Regions from separate parts of the Homo sapiens genome. Here all the other regions are linked to region 1. The links are contacts of gene promoters, found by promoter capture Hi-C in human tissues and cell types (Jung and others, 2019). All regions are on one chromosome and are shown on one strand. The core of a region is centred on a gene start or on the middle of the fragment in contact, and the rest is flanking DNA. Distances in the headings are between cores, read along the strand shown. Region 1 holds the start of ADAMTS5 (ADAM metallopeptidase with thrombospondin type 1 motif 5). Region 2 has its middle 160 kb from the start of LINC01673. Region 3 overlaps LOC105372762 (a long non-coding RNA gene). Region 4 overlaps LOC105372762 (a long non-coding RNA gene). Region 5 has its middle 250 kb from the start of LINC01673. Region 6 overlaps LOC102724355 (a long non-coding RNA gene). Region 7 overlaps LOC102724355 (a long non-coding RNA gene).

Region 1 (2,695 bases), core at 95-2,594:
CGGTGTGGACGCGGGGGTTTCGCAGCTGGCGCGCGGCGGCAGGGCCTCGAAGCTGAAGCCCTCGCGGGTGTAGACGTGCAGGATCCGTGCGGACCCATCCCCGTACACGCGCCCCTTTTCTTCCTCCGCCCAGGGTCCGCGCAGCAGTGGCTTTAGGGTGTAGCGCGCGTGCTTGACCGCGAAGAAGCCGTCGAGACCCCCACAGAGGTCAAAGACAGCCAGAGAGCGGGGACTACCGTCCACTGTGCCCCGATAGAAGCAGTGGCTCCGGTGGCGCCAGGGCGCACTCGTCCCGCCTCCTGCGGGCACGAAGCCAGCAATGCCCACCGAACCATCTCGCTCCAGGTCCAAGAGGAACCTCCGGCCGCCCGCGTAGACGAGGTAGCCCACCTTGCCGCCGCCGGAGTAGAGTTGGTCGATGTTCTGCACCAGCCCCTTGCTCCTGCGCCGCTGCGCCAGGGGGTGCGGGTGGCCGGGAGGCTCGGCTCGCTCCTGCACCTCCTCCCCCTGCCGCCGGCGGGGCTGGGCGGCTGCTGCAGCAGTCGGAGGCTGCCCGGCTTTATCCTGGGCAGGTGTCGCGGCGGGGCCGACCGCGGCCAGGGGCAGGCGGAACGCGCACAGCAGCAGGGACGCCCACCCGAGCAGCATAGTGCGCTGCCCGCGGGGAGGGGCTGCGCGACTGGGACTTTATGGGTATTTGTTATTTGCTATGAAGTTAACGGGGCGGGGGATGGGGACACACACACACTTGCTTGCAGGATTGAGTCAAGTGTCGGAGGGAGGGGGGCCCGGCAGCAGCGCCAGCCTGTCCGGGCTGCGGTGCCAGCGTGCGAACTTTTCTTTGTTGCTTGGGAAAATGTTTGGATTCGTGCTCCAGAAAGAGGTGGGGTGGGGGGGGGGGGAAAGAAAAGATTAAAAAAAAAAAGTCGGATAGTGGAGATTCAGCAAATACGGGAAAAGGAAAAAAACAAAAACCAAAAAACCACCAAATGCAGGCACGATCGCTGTTTCAAGAAAAGTAAGGAAAGGTACCGCGCACCGGGCTGGCAACTGGTGCGCGCAGCCTCCCGCCCCCGCGCTGCGCTGGACAAGCCGGCTGTGGAGGTTCCAAGCTCCGGGGCCCACTTCCTTTCTTATTTTGTGGGTTTCCTTGGCTCTGCTGGGACCAGGAGGAAGGGAAGAAAGAGAGGGGAAAAAGCCGTAAAAATTAAAACAAAAATGCAGGGGGGCAGCCTGAGGCGAGCTGGTGAAGCGGCGTGTCTGTGTCCCTTCGGCTGCGGTCTCCTCCTGCCCGCCGTCATCCCCAGTCGGCAGCTGCGAGCGCCGAGAGCAGCGCGAGCGCTGTGAAGATGCGAGGAGGTGGAACAATGAATTTATAGCGGCATGCCATCCTGCAATGGCAATTTCAACAGTTCGTCACTGCACGCTGCCTCTTAAAGGGAGAGCTTCCCCCACCACTCCCACCCTTCCCAGTCCGCGCCTAATCAGATGGGGGAGGGCAAAAGAGGAGGGTGATCGAGGAAAGGGAGACGAAGTAGGAGGAAGGGACTGGGACCCGGCGAGGTGGTAGGAGGGGAGAGGGGAAAATAAAAAGTAATGGGGCAAGAAAAACAGATTTCCTTGGCCACTTTTAAAGCCACAGCGGCTCCGGGTCTGTCTGATATTTCACAACCAATTGGGGTTGGCTAACCTTGGCTTACCTCATCTCCTGAACGGGTGTTTTGGTTAAAGTTATTGAGACGTTTCAAGTCTCTCCCTGCCTCCTTCTTGCCTGCTTTTCTCGCCCTCGGTGGGAAGTTCCTGCCGCAAGTTTTTCCCCTTTGCACACCCGTGCGCTCTGGCCTCGCAGACCGTGCAACTCCATCCACCAGCCAGAGCTTTTCAGCTTCCCGTGCGTCCCCTAACCACCGCGTTCCCTTCGCTTCCTCCCCTCCGTCCCGGCACCCGGTTTCCTCCCTCCCCATTCTCCAGCCTCTTGATGCTTTGACGCTCGCCGGATTCGGGCTCCGGGTGACTAACTTCTCCCGGCCACCAGCAGAGCGGCTGGACAGCCAGAGAGCCCAGGGCGCTTCCTGGCGCGCTGCGGTACCCCGGGGCGAGAACGCCCGCCGCTTGGGAACTCCGCAGCTTTGTGTGCGAACGGCGGGCTCCCAGCTTTCTCCAGCACGCCTTTCGTCAGGGTCCACAATCTGTCCCTTACTCCCAGCCCACTGGAACTTCCTTTGCTCTAAAAAGGCAGAGCGAGAAAGAGTTAACTCTTAGAGGGAATTCCGCTCATTTTTTTTCCCTGAAAGATTTTAAAATTTTGCGCTCATACTTTTATTTTTTGCTTAAATGATACTTTAATAATAAATTCCTATATCTGTTTTTGTCTCTTCTAAAGCAACCACTTATCGCCATAGGCCTTGACCTACCTTCATTCTCAGAAATTCCTTTTAGAAGAAAAAGAATACTTTTGGCGGAAGGAAGATTGGTGCTTATTAGTACGCGGGTGACATTATCACTGCTACTCGTTTCCTCTGACCTCTTTGTTTCCTCTAATTATCATTCTAAGAAGGGAGAAGGAAAACCCGACGACTTATGGTTAGAAGGTCTACCTTCTACTGTAGGGGTAAGAGCTCCCTCCATGCCCAAATTATTCTTCAGGCTAATTAACTAATGCACCAGTGAAAAATGAATGTGGTGTAATTTGTAC
Region 2 (2,695 bases), core at 103-2,602, 510 kb after region 1:
GTTTTTCTACAAAGGAATGTTTACAATTAAAAAAATAACACTTTAGTTCTTAACTTATTTTTGACATTTTATGGCAAAAACAAGTTTTCTGGTTATCAGCTCTCCAGAGAATTCCATTTTAATTGTAATATATTGTTTATAGTAAAATACATTTGGAATTATTTTTTATGAATTAGTTAATTAAAGATATATGATCTAGTTGAGATGACAGTATTTTTTTCCTTTCATGTACTATCAGGAACTTCTAATAACTACTTTCAGTCAAATATAGTTATTTAAATCCTGTCATTATATACAATCACTAAGTTACAAAATTGTAAATTCAAAGCCTCTCTTCTAGAACTGCCAGGCATTCTACTAGGCAGAATAAACGTTAACAGTGATTTTCTTTCATAAGTCAATTCCTATGCTGCTGCCCAGCAATGCAAAACACTTACTTCCTCTAGTGGCTAATCATGTTGCCTACAAAAGAAGAATTTCTTTTTCTTCTGGGCTTTTAGATATTATCTAAGAAAAACAGTGCATTTTTAAAATTGGTTCTCTTCTTAATTAAAAAAAAGCTTTGAAATCAGTAGAAGATTTTATAAAAGTATAAAAGAGAAGCTGCTATTGTTATTTTTAAGAGTAAAATAAAGTACTACAGCCTATCATGAGTGTAAAATTCATGAGTCAAATCTGTTTCAGTTGTACACAGTCCTTGACACATAGTAGGCACATATAATGTATCTCCCTAGTTAGAGGTTTCTATAGAGTGGGGTTTTGAATATTTATTAAAATTGTGGGGCTAAGGGGGCAATTATTTTACCAGATTCAATCATAATAACAGAATGTGATACTAAGATACGAATGACAAATAGCTCACAATAATCCAGTTAAGAATTCTGAAAAATACAGCTGTGTGTATCAGAATTAATAAAATACCAAAATGACATTTCGAAAATGAGGAAAGCATGAATTTTTCAATAAGTGGAATGGTGAAAATTAAGTATACACTTGGGAGGACATGACAGGAAAGATATATCCCTATTTCACAACTTTTACACAAAATAAATTCCAATTGGATTAAAGATCTAAACATAAAACTGAAACCATATGCAAACTTACATGGCTTATTTAATATGATACCAAAGACTGAACTGAGAAAGGATTGTAGTTCAACAGATTTAAATGTTTAAAAATGTTTGCTTATCAAACCATATCAAATCAAGTAAGAAAGCAAAAGACAAGAATAGGAAAAATTTTGCATTGTGTACAAATAGTCAATATCTTTAATATAAATAACTCCCTTTTATGAATTATTTAGGAAAGTGCAAGTAATCCACTAAGGTGGTTAAAGAAACTGAACTAGTAAATCACAGGAAGAAATAAAAAATCAGTATGGCTAAGCATCTTAGTACTTTGCATTATGTTTATGAATTATATTACAATGAGGTCACTAAAGATTAAAACAGGGGACATTTTCCATTGTTATTAAGACTGAGGACAAAGGAGTACTCAAGGGTAACAAGTTAATGAAAGAACAAATTGTCTCAATTTTTAAGTTAATGAGAGAATAAATTGTTTCAATTTTCAAGTTAATGAGGGAATAAATTGTTTCAATAGTCTTCAATCATACAATACTGCAGTCAGTAAAATAATATCTATTTTTAGAACATTGACAGAGAACAATGTCTTGGACATATTTTAAGACAAAACCCTTGAACAAGGTAGGTTTGAACTGCACAGCTCCACTTATACATGGATTTTTTTTTCACCTCTGCCACCCTTGATACAGCAAGATCAACTACTCCATTTTCTGCCTCCTCCTCAGCCTACTCAATATGAAGTTGATGAGGATGAAGACCTTTATGATAATCCACTTCCACTTAATGAATAGTAAATATATTTTCTCCTCGTGATTTTTTCAACAACATTTTTCTCTTAGCTTACTTTAATGTAAGAATACAATATAAAATACACGCAGCATACAAAATATATGTTAATCAACTGTTTATGTTACCAATAGGCTTCTAGTCAACAGTAGACTATTAGTAGTTAGGTTTTTGGGGAGTCAAAACTTATACATGAATTTTTGACCATATGGGGTTTGGTATTCCTAATCCTCATGTTGTTCAAGGGCAAAGCATGTAAGGCATCTATATAGTTACTATAGCTATTGTCTTAGTTCATTTTGTGCTTCCCAGACAGAATTTCACAAACTGGGAAATTTAAGAGAAATGTATATCTTCGCAGTGTTCTGGAGGCTGGGAAGTCCAAGACACAGGTGCCAGCAGGTTCATTTATCTGATGATGATCTGGTCTCTGCTTCCAAGATGGCACCTTGAATGCTGTGTCTTTTGAAAATGGGGGAATGTTATATCCTCACATGGCAGAAGACAGGAGGGCAAAAAGCGAAAAGGGGCAAACTCCTTTCATTAAACCCTTTTATAATGGAATTAACTGACTTATGAGCAAAGAGCCCTCTTGAACTAAGCACTTCCCAAAAGATCCTATCTCCCAACACTGTTGCATTAGGGATTGTTTCCAACACATGAATTTCGGGGGACTAATTTTGACCATAGCATTCCAACCCTGGCTCCCCAAATTGATGTTTTTTTCAAATACAAAACACAGCTATTCCATCTCAATAGCCCAAAAAGCCATTCTGATGCCAACTTAAAAATCTGAAGTCTGGAGTCTTATCTAAATAAGTTAT
Region 3 (2,695 bases), core at 71-2,570, 470 kb after region 1:
GAACATTTTCAAGGGTGGATTTGAATTTTGAAAGCCAAAACTCATTTGGAATTTCTAATGTAAATGTACTTCATAATCATGCTGAATAGCTGAAAAATCAAGGTGAAATATGACACTGACTTTCTTGAGACTAATATCATATTTGAAGAAATTTTAAAAATTATTATAAATTGAAATATATTTTAGAAATAACTTTATATACATAAGTGTTTTTAGAAAACGACATATATAGGTGTAAAAGGTAATAAAATTAAAATACTTTGACTCATGTTACTCTTGTTCTTAAATTCCTTCAATGACAGTACAACCAGCAAATGCTTGAAACTCTCTAATATAAAGTTGTTTATTGTGCATTTTTAGCTTATCTCTCCTGCTTTATCTCTAGTTACACATTCCTTGTATTTTGTGATCTGACCATGGATAATTAGCCCCCTTCTGACTGCTATTCCCTTCTCATCAATCCATGGATGGTTTATCTAGCCCATTTTTATCTCAAAACTCAATTCATATATCACTTCTGCCTGTAACTTTTACCAACTGGACACCCTTCCAGTCTAGATATGAGACTTTGCACTTGGCTCCCAAGGCATGGTGCATAGAACACCCTCAGCCTGTAGCCTTCTCCTCTCCTCTTTCTCAGTTCGTCTTTCTTCAGGATACAGATGCTGATATGGTTGTTCAGACTTCAGGACATGTGGGTGGAGTCTATTCAGACAAGTTTGTACTCCCCTCCCAAGAAAAAGCTACCTCTTTTTTTCCTACATTTTCAAGCTTCATACTGCATTTTTTTCAGAATTGCCAATAGTAGCCTTATGGTTGTGAATGTGGAGAAAAGAAGCATTGCTACATTTGGGGGCTTATGTCATGTACTGCGATGTGATTTCTAGAATACTTTTACATGGGGTATTCTTTAAAGACTCAGTTAACACGCTCATTTGCTATTTTTTCTGTGCATGTGCTTCAAGTATCCAGAGAAGAAAAGGGAAAGCATAATTGTCAGAGATGTTTAGATGTTTAGAGTTAGAACTGATTTACTACATTGTATCAATATTCCCTTGAGGGTCACCATTTTCCTTACATTATTGGTCAATGTAATTCCAAGGTCTACAACTGAACTAAGTTCTACTGGGAACTCAATATAGTTTGGTTGAATGAAAGACTGGTTCAATGAATACATGAAAATGTTCTATGTATTCTATATGAAGATGTTTTAAAATTGTGCTGTTTTTTGTTGTTTATTTACTTGTTTGGTTAATTTGTTTAATGACTTCATTACCTTCTCTTTAGCCGGAATCTGTCCAAGAGAATTTCCTTTTAGGCTTTAAAGCTGAATGTATTGGAAGCATTTGAAACTACTTATAAGTCTAATAATGACCAACAGAATTGCCTGTTATTTATTTTCTTCAAAAATTTTAAATGTGATATTTAAACATATTAAAAGTAGTTAAACTGTTTCCTAGTTACATGTTTTTTGCTTAGTTAGGAAGGTTTTATGCTTTTGTTAACCTTCAAAAGCAAAGGAACAACTGTGTTGTCTGGTTTAGGTGAGATAAATTCCAGCTTTCTGCTCCTTAATTTTGTCATTTGTACAATAAACAAATGATATAACCTATTTCATACAGTGATTTCGAGGATTAAATAATATTATTAAATCACATAATATTTAGTGTTATTTGCTAACGTTCTTACCATAGTTCCCTAAATATACTAAAACTTAAAGTTTGTCATTGCCCAATCATAAACTGGCCAATTAGCAGCTTGATGATAAAACAGAAGTAGATGTTTTTAATTAAAATTAGACTATAAATATAGACTTTAAAATTTTTATTATGAGTTAAAATAAATTCAATAAATGAATTGGGAATGAAATACATATAGGCAAAGATTTAATTCTAACTGAAATCTGAACATTTGCCCTATTGATATGCACAGGAGACAGGGAAATACTGTGTAGAAGAGAGCTGTTCCCTGGAAAAGGCCCTACCCTCCAGCCTGAAGACCCAAGTCCCTAAATGAGGACAGGCATTTCTGTTTTCATGCCCCAAAAGTTGCCTTTTGGCCTGCCATACCCCCTACCCTGCACCCATATAATCCCTGAAACCCAGGCAAGCCAGCAGATCAGCAGATGGACGGACAGCAGAATGATGTGGCAGAGAAAGAGAGAAGAGGAGGAACATTTGAATGCCAAGAGGAGTTCGACTGGGGGTGGTTGGAGAGGAATCCAGCTGCTGGGTGACCCTCTTCCAGGGGAAGACCACCTTTTCACTCCATCCCCCACCTTCCATCTCCCCATCTATCCCATCAAAAGCCACCTCCAGGTGAAGACCACCTTCTCACTTGATCCCCACCTTCCAGCTCCCCCTCCATCCTACTGAAAGCCACCTCCATCACTCAAAATCTCACATTTATCCTTCAAGCCCGAGTGTGACCTGATTTTTTCTGGGATAATGCACAAAAGCTCAGGATACAGAAAGCTTTCACAGTGGCCCTCTGCCCTTTTGTAAGGGCAGAGGGTCCATTGAGTTGATTAATACTCAAGCTGTCTGTGGGTGGCAAAGCTGAAAGAGCTTTGGGGTTGTAGGCACCCACTCGTAGACATTACCTTGGGGCTAGACCCCAAAGCACTCACCCCCAGCCTCTGCCTGTCTCCATGATCCCCCTCCCACCAAGGATTTAAGCAGTAGGTGACTAAACA
Region 4 (2,695 bases), core at 82-2,581, 460 kb after region 1:
TTAGTAGAGAGAAGGTTTCACTGTGTTAGCCAGGATGGTCTCGATCTCCTGACCTCGTGATCTGCCCGCCTCGGCCTCCCAAAGTGCTGGGGTTACAGGCCTGAGCCACCACGCCCGGCTGAATTGTATATATTTATGCTGTACAACATGTACAATATATATCCAACATATATCTTGGGTATATATCTAGACACTATGGAATGGCAGAATCAGGCTAATTATCATATTCCATTTCCTCACACACTTACCATTTTTGTGGTGACAGCACTTAAAATCTACCCTTTTGGCACATAGTACATTGCTGTTAAGTATGATCACTGAGTCCTGAACTTATTGCTCCTAACTGAAATTTTAAAATTGATTTCTTTCTTATCTTCCTGTCTTTACTTGGAAGCCAACTATTGTTTTTCTTGGCTTTTAAATGATGGGTGGCATGCTAATCTGAGGTCCGTTTTGCAAGTTCTTGAGAACAGATTACCCAAGGAAACAACAACCATATTCCCTAGTGTCTTATGATGTAACCAGTGGAATGGTACCCATGGGAGGAGAGGGAAGAGGTAAAAACTTGGTTGTGGACCTCAGCTCATGCAATTTTGCTCTGTCGTGGGGACCCTCTACTGTTCGGCTTTCCAGTGTTACTGTGTGTATTCTTTTATATGCTGAGGAAGTTGTAGGAAAGTAAGGAAAATAAAACACTTTTTTTTTTTTTGAGACAGAATCTTGCTCTATGCCCCAGGCTGGAGTGCAGTGGCACAATTTCAGCTCACTACAGCCTCCACCTCCTGGGTTCAAGGGATTCTCCTGTCTCAGCCTCCTGAATAGCTGGGACTACAGGCGCCCACCACCACACCTGGCTAATTTTCGTATTTTTTCGGTAGAGATGGGGTTTCACCATGTTGGCCAGGCTGGTCTTGAACTCCTTGACCTCAATTGGTTCACCCATCTCAGCCTCCCAAAGTGCTGGGATTACAGGTGTGAGCCACTGTGACTGGCCTGTTCGTTTTTTACATCAGCATATCTGTTACTCCCCACTAAGGATGAGGAACTTCGCACTGGAGCAAGATGATTAGGAGAAAAATGAATCTGCTTTGCCACCTAGTTTGGGGGGAATTGATGGAGCACACACTTCTGAGGGACACATGATCTCTTTCTCAGCAGTAACTTGCTAATGCTGTACCAGCTTTCAGCTTGTCTGGAAATGGCAAGAGTGTTTTATGAGTGTCTTATGGACACAATGAATCAGCTTTACCTCAAAATAAAAGTTAAAAAAAAATACATTCTGGCTTACCCCATGATACAATGCTAAGTGCATTCATAGGCACACACACGGAGTCTTTCTGTCTAAAAAACAGCACTGTGTTTACATCCTGCCACCTATCTCAGAGGGACTGACTAAGACTTGGAAAACTCTGATGATATCCTTTAATCTTTTCCTTAATATGGGAATATAGTGTTTAATCTTTGTACCTTTTTATATAAGTTTTCATCTGAAATGGTTTTTTTTCAAATGTATTTCTCTTAGGTTGGGTGCATGGTGGCACAATATCATGCCTTATTATTTAACGTTCACATCTCCCTCCCAATAATTTAAACCATCCAAATATTTGTTGATAATTTTCGTATTCCCATTTCATGTTTGCACAGCCAAATAACACATGTAAAATTCCTTTAATCTCTCCATACAAAATAAATCCTCCATTGCTTTAATTATTCCTAGTAGTGCTTTCTGAACTTTTACCAGCCTTGCTTGGCAGAATTATGGTGAGAAAGTTGAATCCAGGCTGTCAGTAGCAAAGTGTTTGCCATGCTATTATCCTTGGCAACTGCAGGCCTCCTCCAGGCTACAAAACAGCTCAGTGCCTACCTCCTTTTCCCTGCTTTCTACTGGCCTACAAATTCCAGCTGTGGTCAGCTGGTGAGCTCTGAGCTACAGGGACGGCGTGGCGCATGTTTTGGGCTTGACTCAGGGATCATGTAATGTTGGGACAGTGAACTTTCCGATGGGAGCCAATAACACCCATGGTTGTTTTCACCTCCTGACCAGAATGTCTCAACTTAATTCAATCATCTGAACATCAATGAGGGTGACTGGAAAAAATTTTTTATCACAGCACTAAAATAAAAGCAATTCCAAGATGTTTTCTTTTCCATTGCACATTTTCAGAGCTTTGATTTTCCTGGTAAAATGCTCTTTGCATGTGCCATGTTCCCAGATTAGGAGAAGATGATACCCAAGGGAGAAGAGGTAAAAATGCACATAAATAATTTTACACCATGACACCGTGGTTAAGGCTTTCAAGGATGCTTTTAATGATGCTATGTGCCATGGTTTTAAAAGTCACTATCAAGTTATTTATTTGTATATATTTTGTTTCCTCTTAAAAACTCTTTAAATAAATAAAAGAGGAGAAATTGTACAAATTTCTTCTTTTACTGTGTACCTACTCTTGCTTTGTGTTTATGAGTGAAGAGAGATGGGGAACATACAGAATATTAAGTGGTATATTTAAGATACTTGTTCATTTTAAGATTTAGGCTTGCAATTTAGGTGTGCCTAATTTGTCTGCTTTGGGAGCTCAAAGGTCAAGTTGCCACCGCAATTAAGCATCAATATTCCTTAATTTGAAGTGTTAAAAAATATGTGTGTGTGAGCGTGTGCATATCTGTGTTCAACTGTCTGCCTTTATTAGTTTTC
Region 5 (2,695 bases), core at 114-2,613, 420 kb after region 1:
GACATTGTATTGGGAAGCTGCTAATCACGTTTCAGGTTTTTTCTATCTATTGGGAGACGGCCGTTCCCTGGCGCCAGCTGCAGCCAATTATTATTTGAGAGAACCAGTGTAAATACCACCTGCCCATCATCTAATGGTTCCCTGACATTCCTGGTGGGGACACAGGGGTGCTTCTCTTGCCCTGCTCATGTCTAACTCCTACTATAACAAATATACATTATACTTATATTTGTAATGCCCAACTAAAATCAGTATTTCACCACTGCATGTGGAATTCAGAAAGCTTACCAGCCTTTGGGTCTCTATCCTCCTTTATTTTGAGTTGTCTTACGTATTACAACTACGTAGAACTAAAATACTATCAACAATGTTATAATTTTCTTTCCACTCTCAAACATGTTTTAAACACTCCAGAGGAAAATGATAGTCTATAACATTTACTCAATAGTACCATTTATGTTGCTCTACTTTCATTACTAACGTTTCAAATTTCCCTCTGGTATTCTGTCTAAAGGTCTTTGAAGGCTGGGCGCGGTGGCTCTTGCCTGTGATCCCAGCACTTTGGGAGGCCGAGGTGGGTGGACCACCTGAGGTCAGAAGTTCAAGACCAGCCTGGCCAACATGGCGAAACCCTGTCTCTACTAAAAATACAAAAAATTAGCTGGTCGTGGTGGCATGCGCCTGTAATCCCAGCTACTAAGGAGGCTGAGGGGGAAGAATCGCTTGAACCTGGGAGGTGGAGGTTGCAGTGGGCCGAGATTGCGCCGTTGCACTCCAACCTGGGCAACAAGAGCAAAACACCGTCTCAACAGCAACAACAAAAAGTCCTTTAATGATTCTCTTTGTAAAGATCTGCTAGCAATTAATTTTCTTAATTTCATTATTTAACTTTCATTTTTTAAAGATAGTTTCACTACATAGATAAAGTCTGGGTTGATAATCTTTCCTTTTAGAACTTAAAAATATTGCTCCCCCCCAGAAAGTAGGTAACTATGTAAAGTGATAGATACGTTAATTAAGTTGATTGTGGTCATCATTTCACAATGTGTATGGACATCAAAACATTATATATATCTTAAATGTAAACAATTTTTATTGTCAATTATAGCTCAATAAAGCTGGGAAAATATTGTTCCATTTCCTTCTGGTCTTGACATTTTCTAATGAGTAATCTGATACCATTCAAATATCTATTGTTTAGGACACAAATCAAAATTACTCAGAATTTGAAGAGCCAGGAAAATATCAACTTGAGTGGGAAAAGGCAATCAACATATGCCCTTTATTGTGCAAAACTCGGGTAACAGGTAAACAAGATTAACAGGGACCGCTAGGATCAAGAAATGGAAGATGCCTCCCTACATACATCTGAGATGAATCCACAAAGATATCAATGTGAGTATGGGATGGCTTCCCATATAGTGATCAAGTAGATTGTCATATTTAAAAAAATTAAATAATTATTTTATGTTTGAAAAGGAAAGTTTATCAATTAAATTTATAAGTTTCCAATCTGTTAGACCTATGCTTTGATCACCTTTCATCAGAACTTGCCATCTACCATCTACCCAACTTAGGGTTGCTAATTAGCTAGGATAATTATCACACTCATGTCCTTATATGCAAACCTTTATTTTTCTTGGTCACTGAAGAAGAGTCTCAGTTTAGATATAGGTTTTCTGTGTAAGAAAATCTGTTTTACAGAAATGTAAATACATTTTCTCTCTTACTCTAATGCTTAAACCAAAATATGAGCATAATAATACTATAGTTATATAGTATTATTAGTATATATAGTATATAGTATATATAGTTATATAGTATTATTATATAGTATTATAGTTATATAGTATTTATTAACAAATAAAAATTTAATTGTAAAACTGAGTACATTAATTTTGCTTCTTTAGTAATACACAGAAGGGGTCCTTAGTGAATAAGTTGTATTCCCAAGATAGCACAGCAAATTAATAATAGAGTCAAGTGGGAACCCTGGTTTTCTTTTTCAAGTATTAGTACAATACAGTGTTTAGAGGGTTCCAGAAGAGGAATATTCCTTCAGCATATTAGACACACCTTAAGATCAAATTGATACCAAATTGATTTTCAGAAATGTTCTACTTGCTGCATTGTGTTAAAAATAATCTTCAAAAGTAACAGTGGAAGATGTACGTATTTTGGGCCCACAGACTTCTGAGTTCAAATCAATCTTCTGTCCATTAGTAGCTAACAAGTACTTTATTTGAACTTGAAAATAGTGTAAGTTAAACTTATTCTTAATGAAGAATTTAGCTTGGAAGCTATCGCTATGTCTGACACATTTTCAGTAACCATTTATTTTCTGCCTTCTTTGGCTGAAATGTCATTTAATAAGATGCCTTTATAATTTTAATAATCGTGTAGTCTAATTCACCAATTATATAATACAATTGTTTAAAAACCTATTTAAGAACAATTAATCTAAATAATTCCTATTTTATTATATTTTAAATAAAATTTATATTCTGTTTAAAAATTTGCATATAGCTACCAATGATAATTACATTTAACATTTTTTGGCTATTGTATCCTAAAATTTTATAAGTTGATATCTCAAACACCAAGACTGATGACACAAAATAACTGTAATTTCCAGTTATTATCTCTAAAGGCGTGTCTACATTAGGCAGGATGTGGAAATGTTTGCTTAAAGGTG
Region 6 (2,695 bases), core at 98-2,597, 360 kb after region 1:
ACCAATGAGGCTTTGTTTTTTTTTTTAATCACCATTCTTATAAAAACCTTTAAATGATGAATTCGATGTTTTCTAGATTGCAATTTCCAAAACAGCAGGGTTGGTGTGTAATTTGTGCACTTTTGGGAACGTACAGTGCTTGTCACTTTGTAAATGCTTAATAGATGTGTGATGAAAGAAAAAAGAAAACATTCTAGAATACACTGAAAAAGTTATGTTTAGTTTTGTCTGACTCACGAGTAAACATATGGCTCTTATGTTTTTAGCAAATATCAAGTTTTGAATTTCAACCCAAGTAAAATGTTTCTCCCGTGGCTCCCTGACAGAACATTCCCAGCTGTTTCAATGCAGAGCTCTGACAGCTTCTAGAGCAAGAGTCAATATTAGTTAATGGTCCAGCTGCAGTTGCGACTATTTTATTTCATCACAATGACAACTTAGATTCCTTCTCCTACTATTTCCTTTGAGATTAGTGCTGCTGAACTTTAGTATTCACAGCTACTCACAGAGCTGTGACTATAAACCCTTTCGAGTTATTCATTATTAGTTCCTACACAACATGTTCTAATTAACTCATAATAAATCCTCCAAAATACTGCATATGTTACATTTTTCATTAGGATCTAATTGGAAGGAAGCTGCATCACTTTCCTTCTGTTAGTAAGCCATCTTTCTTTACATTGCATGATGCATTTTAGTTTGACATGACGATTATTCCATTCCATCAATGACCCAGATTACGTTCTTCCTTCCGTAACAGAATGTATTGTAAAATAATGAAACTGAAACTGCAAGGCAGAGAAAACTACACACACACACCATGATGTGATCGCTGAAGACTTTTGGTATGAGAGTGAATATGTGCATGTGTGTGCATGCAATAATGTGCACTCTATTTTTATGTATTGTGTTCTGAAAAACTATCTTAATAGACTTCTTTTTTTTTTTTTTTTTTTTTTTTTTTTGAGACGGAGTCTTGCTTTGTCAAGACTGGAGTGCAGTGGCGCGATCTGGGCTCACTGCAAGCTCTGCCTCCCGGGTTCACGCCATTCTCCTGCCTCAGCCTCCCCAGCAGCTGGGACTACAGGCGCACACCACCTCGCCCAGCTTATTTTTTTGTATTTTTAGTAGAGACGGGGTTTCACCGTGTTAGCCAGGATGGTCTTGATCTCCTGACCTCATGATCCACCCGCCGTGGCCTCCCAAAGTGCTGAGATTACAGGCGTGAGCCACCGAGCCCGGCCTTAACAGACTTCTTAATAGACCCTTAATATTAAGAAAAACTTAATAGAGCCTCTTTAGATTTGTTATTAGAATACTGAATTCATTGGAAGAAATTCTAGCATTGTTCTTTTGATTGTGTGTTTTCTGGAAAGAACTTTACTTCCACAGTAGTTAAAATAACATACAGATGAAGAATATATATGCTTGTTAATCTTATGTGTTGTGTATGTGTGTGTTGTGTGTGTGTTTGGTTCTTTTGTGCTGTGATTTGTTTTAAAAGAATTTCAGTACAATCAGAGAATAACAATCTTAGAAGACATATTACAGTTCACATAATTAAACCTCTCACTGTTGGAGGTTCTTGCACAGATGTTGTAAAAAATAAAAACAAAAACAAAAAATGAAACATCTTTGTCAGATGAAAAGTGCCATTGCTAGTCTTTCTTCAGTAATGTTACTAAATAAATGTCAGGCTTACCTCATTCGTCTATGGTTATTGTCAGACTGACTCATGTTTCTGCTTAAAAATAATAATAAAAATAATAATAATAAAAGCTGCCATAGTTGTTATGAATGGTTTAGAATAGTGTAGTCACTTTTTAATTTGAAATACAGAAAATAAAGGAGCTTTGAAGCCGTGTTCAGAGTCCTATAAATTTGTATACTCAAAGATGAGATTATTGGCAGAGGGCATATGTAGGTAGCAGTTAGTATTCCTCAAAATACGTACACCCACATCTCAGAAATATGGGTAAGTTTAGAAGGTGGTAGAAAATATATTTACATAACTGTTAAAGCTTTCTAAAACAATTTTTAAAGCATTTCAAGTTTTCTAAAAAACAATCTAGCATTTAATCATCACTTTAGTTTAAGATGATGTACGTATATAAAATATTTAGTTATTTGAAATGCTTTCCACTGATGTCTTTGATAAACGTTTGATTTAAAGAAATAATAATATGGGCAGAGCAAAAACAAAGTGTTTCTCAAATTGTTGTAACAGCTATATTATTTATAATTGAACTAAACTAGTCAAAGCTCTTACCCTGTCTGGTTGTGACAACAAATGTTGTGGTCAGTTAAATTTACTTTGAAATTCTTTAGATGGAAACTATTTTATAGATTCCAATTTGTTTGCTTAAAAAATATACATGGCAATATCTATGTTCAATTGTACAGCAGAGATTCTAAAACTGTCCAAAGTTGAAAGTTAAATCCTATATGCATATGTATTGTATTTACTCAGCATGATGTTAAATTTTAAAGCAGCATCACAAAATGAATAAAATAATTTCATGTGTTCCAAAATAAGTGAAAAGCCAGTGTTTCACCACCACTTCTCTTAATCGCTAGGATTATGATATGCGGAATCATTTGAGAGGCAGGGCATGAGATTTTGAGTAATGAAAAACATCTTGAACAAAGGCTTTGAAATGGGGGTGAATCATGGCATTTGGATTTGCTATAGTGA
Region 7 (2,695 bases), core at 124-2,623, 350 kb after region 1:
ATGTGGGCATTTAATGCCATAAACTTTACTCTTAGTACTTCTTTTGGTGTATCTCAGAAGTTTTGGTATGTTGTTGTCTCTATTTTCATTCACTTCAAGGAATTTTTTTATTTCTGTCTTAACTTCATTGTTTGCAGAAAAGTCATTCAGGAGCAACCTTCCTTGCACTTGTGTAGTTTTGAAACTTCCTCTTAGTATTAATTTCTAATTTTATTAAACTGTGGTTGAGGAAGATACTTAATATGATTTAGATTTTTTGAAAATTTATTGGTACTTGCTTTATGGCCCAAATATATGGTTGATTTTTGAGAATGTTCCTTGTGGAGGTGGGAAGAATGTATATTCTGTGGTTGTTGGATAGAATGTTATTTAAATGTCTATTAGGTCCATTTGGTCTATAGTACAGTTTAATCCATAGTTTCTTTGTTGATGTTCTGCCTCAATGTTCTGTCTAGTGATGTCATTGGGATGTTAAAGTCCTCCCTTATTGTATTCCTATCAATACAATAGTGTTTTCTTAGATGTAGTAGTATTTGCTTCATGAACCTGGGTGCTCTGGGGTTGGGTACATATGTATTTAAGATATTTAAATTTTCTTGTTGTATTGAACCCTTTATCATTATATAATACCCTTCTTTGTCTTATTTTTCTGTTGTTGGTTTAAAGCCTGTTTAATCTGAAATAAGAGTGGCTACTCCTGCTCACTTTTGTTTTCTGTTTATATATCTTTTTTCTTCTAATTTACTTTGAGTCTGCAGCTGCCTTTAGCCAGTAAGTGAGCCTCTTACATGCAGCAGATGGTTGAGTTCTGGAATTTTTGTTTGTTTTCTTTGTTTTGTCTTCTTTTGTTTTGTTTTTTACAGTTTCCACTCTATGTTTTTAGAGTAGAGCATTCAAGTCATTTATATTCAAGGATAATGTTGATAGGTGAGATTTTATGTTTATCATAGTGTTGTTAGCTAGTTGCCTTGTGGTTTCATTGTGTAGTTGCTTTATGTTATCTGTGAGCTTTGTATTTCTGTCATCTTTTATGATGGTGTGGGTCATTCTTTCATTTCCATGTGTAGACTGCACATTTGTTGGTGGTCTGGTCTAGTGGTGACAAATTCCCTTGGTGTTTCTTTGTCGGGGAAAGGTTATATTTCTCCTTAATTTATGAAGCTTAGTTTGGCAGAACACAAAATTCCTGGCTGGCTTTTTTGTTTCTTTAAGTGGGCTAAAAATAGGCTCTTAATGTCTTCTGGATTATAGGGTTTCTGCTGAGATTTCTGCTGTTAGTATAATAGGATTTCAAAATGATTAGACCCCTCTCTTGATGCTCTTAGAGTGTTTTTTTTCCCCTCTCATTGACTTTGGATAGTCTGATGACTATATACATTGGTGAAGTTCTTGCAATGTATCTCTAGGAATTCTCTGAGCTTCTGGTATCTGAATGTCTAAATCTGTCCCAAGACTAGGGAAGTTTTCTTAAATTATTTCCTCAAATAGGTTTTTCATACATTCTTCTTCTTCTTTGTTTTCTTCTTCCTCTGTCATTATGTAATTATGTATAACTTGTAGGTTTGGATGTTTTACATAATCTCATATATCCTGAAGTCTTTGTTTATTTAAAATTTTTTTAAATTGTTTCTCACTGTTAATTTGAAAGACCTGTCTTCTAACTCTATAATTCTTCTTCCACTTGGTCTAGCCTATTGTTAAAATTTTCAGCTGTATTTTGTAACTATTTCAAAATTTTTTTTACTTCTAGAAATTCTTTTTATTTTTTAACGATGCCTGTCTCCTTTTCCATGTCCTGAATTTTTTCTCTGATTTCTTTATGTTGGTTTTAGTTTTCTCTTGGATCTCAATTATTTTCTTTAAAATCAGTATTTTGAATTCTTTATCTGTTATTTCAAAGATTTCATTTTGTTTGAGATCCATTGCTAGAGAGTTACTGCTTCACTTTGGGGGTGTTGTAACACTGTTTTTTCCTATACTTTTGGAGTTTTTTCTCTTGTTCTTTTACATCTGGATAAGCTGTCTCTCCTTCATATTTTTTGATTTTGCTTTACTTTGGAAAGGACTTTTTCCCTTCTTGAGGAGGTGTCTACAATGTATGATGTTGTATAAGGTCCTTTTACTTTGTTTCTGGGAGTTTTCAGTGGTAAAGAGTCTGGAAAAACTCCTTAGTTATTGAAGCCTTTCTATGGTGGCTTTCTCAAATGTTTGTTGTAGTAGCAATGTGTTAGGCATGTGAGTAGGCTCAGGAAGCTTATCACATTTTCCAGAGCTATGCATTTGTGTCAGCAGATTTCCTCTTGTTTTGTGGGGTTCAACCTCCATGCCAGTGGGTGGTGCTGTAGTGTTAGAACTGGCTGCAGCCAATCGGGATGGGTATACACTAATACTTGATCCTTGTTTACTATGGGAAGCTCTGTGTTACCCAAGACAATGGGTTGAACTGTGGAATTCACAGGGTTCTGAGCTCCCTACTTATCTCCAGAGTGGGGGACCAAGGTAGGCAGGGCCCGACTGGACAGGCCTGCCTCATGTCTCATAATGGCAGGCACAAGCACCAGCTGTGTTGGGGGATTCTAGTGCACAGCCACCAAATGCCCAGAAGTGTGCCTAGGCATGGAGTTGGAAAACCTCCACTGCCCCAAGTTTTCTGCACAGGTAGGGGAGTATGGCCTAAACACAACATCAAGAAGAG

What was found. Contacts are between HindIII fragments. The study calls those that stand out against the background at their distance.
Region 2: a contact is called between a fragment that was not itself captured here and the fragment with the promoter of ADAMTS5 in region 1, in 4 of the 25 tissues and cell types used here (heart left ventricle, heart right ventricle, lymphoblastoid cells and 1 more).
Region 3: a fragment that was not itself captured here is called in contact with the fragment with the promoter of ADAMTS5 in region 1 in 1 of the 25 tissues and cell types used here (IMR-90 fibroblasts).
Region 4: a fragment that was not itself captured here is called in contact with the fragment with the promoter of ADAMTS5 in region 1 in 1 of the 25 tissues and cell types used here (mesenchymal stem cells).
Region 5: a contact is called between a fragment that was not itself captured here and the fragment with the promoter of ADAMTS5 in region 1, in 2 of the 25 tissues and cell types used here (IMR-90 fibroblasts and heart right ventricle).
Region 6: a contact is called between a fragment that was not itself captured here and the fragment with the promoter of ADAMTS5 in region 1, in 3 of the 25 tissues and cell types used here (H1 embryonic stem cells, aorta and mesenchymal stem cells).
Region 7: a fragment that was not itself captured here is called in contact with the fragment with the promoter of ADAMTS5 in region 1 in 2 of the 25 tissues and cell types used here (dorsolateral prefrontal cortex and mesenchymal stem cells).

The regions. Positions count from the first base shown.
Region 1 is chr21:26,965,744-26,968,438 of GRCh38, forward strand. It overlaps ADAMTS5 (ADAM metallopeptidase with thrombospondin type 1 motif 5), which reads right to left and starts at 1,345. Exons shown (of 8, transcript NM_007038.5): 1 at 1-1,345. The coding sequence starts at 648. It overlaps LOC124905050, which reads right to left. Exons shown (of 3, transcript XM_047441063.1): 2 at 1,701-2,227; 3 at 913-1,341. The coding sequence ends at 913. The HindIII fragment of the contact is 10,779 bases long and covers 1-2,695 here.
Region 2 is chr21:27,476,474-27,479,168 of GRCh38, forward strand. No RefSeq gene overlaps it. Among named protein-coding and RNA genes, the nearest start is that of LINC01673, 160 kb to the right of the region's middle. The HindIII fragment of the contact is 7,074 bases long and covers 1-2,695 here.
Region 3 is chr21:27,438,282-27,440,976 of GRCh38, forward strand. The region is part of intron 1 of LOC105372762 (a long non-coding RNA gene); the gene reads right to left. Among named protein-coding and RNA genes, the nearest start is that of LINC01673, 200 kb to the right of the region's middle. The HindIII fragment of the contact is 3,372 bases long and covers 1-2,695 here.
Region 4 is chr21:27,421,358-27,424,052 of GRCh38, forward strand. The region is part of intron 1 of LOC105372762 (a long non-coding RNA gene); the gene reads right to left. Among named protein-coding and RNA genes, the nearest start is that of LINC01673, 220 kb to the right of the region's middle. The HindIII fragment of the contact is 8,330 bases long and covers 1-2,695 here.
Region 5 is chr21:27,386,266-27,388,960 of GRCh38, forward strand. No RefSeq gene overlaps it. Among named protein-coding and RNA genes, the nearest start is that of LINC01673, 250 kb to the right of the region's middle. The HindIII fragment of the contact is 6,614 bases long and covers 1-2,695 here.
Region 6 is chr21:27,329,305-27,331,999 of GRCh38, forward strand. All of the region lies in intron 1 of LOC102724355 (a long non-coding RNA gene), which reads right to left. Among named protein-coding and RNA genes, the nearest start is that of LINC01673, 310 kb to the right of the region's middle. The HindIII fragment of the contact is 3,443 bases long and covers 1-2,695 here.
Region 7 is chr21:27,313,220-27,315,914 of GRCh38, forward strand. All of the region lies in intron 1 of LOC102724355 (a long non-coding RNA gene), which reads right to left. Among named protein-coding and RNA genes, the nearest start is that of LINC01673, 320 kb to the right of the region's middle. The HindIII fragment of the contact is 4,104 bases long and covers 1-2,695 here.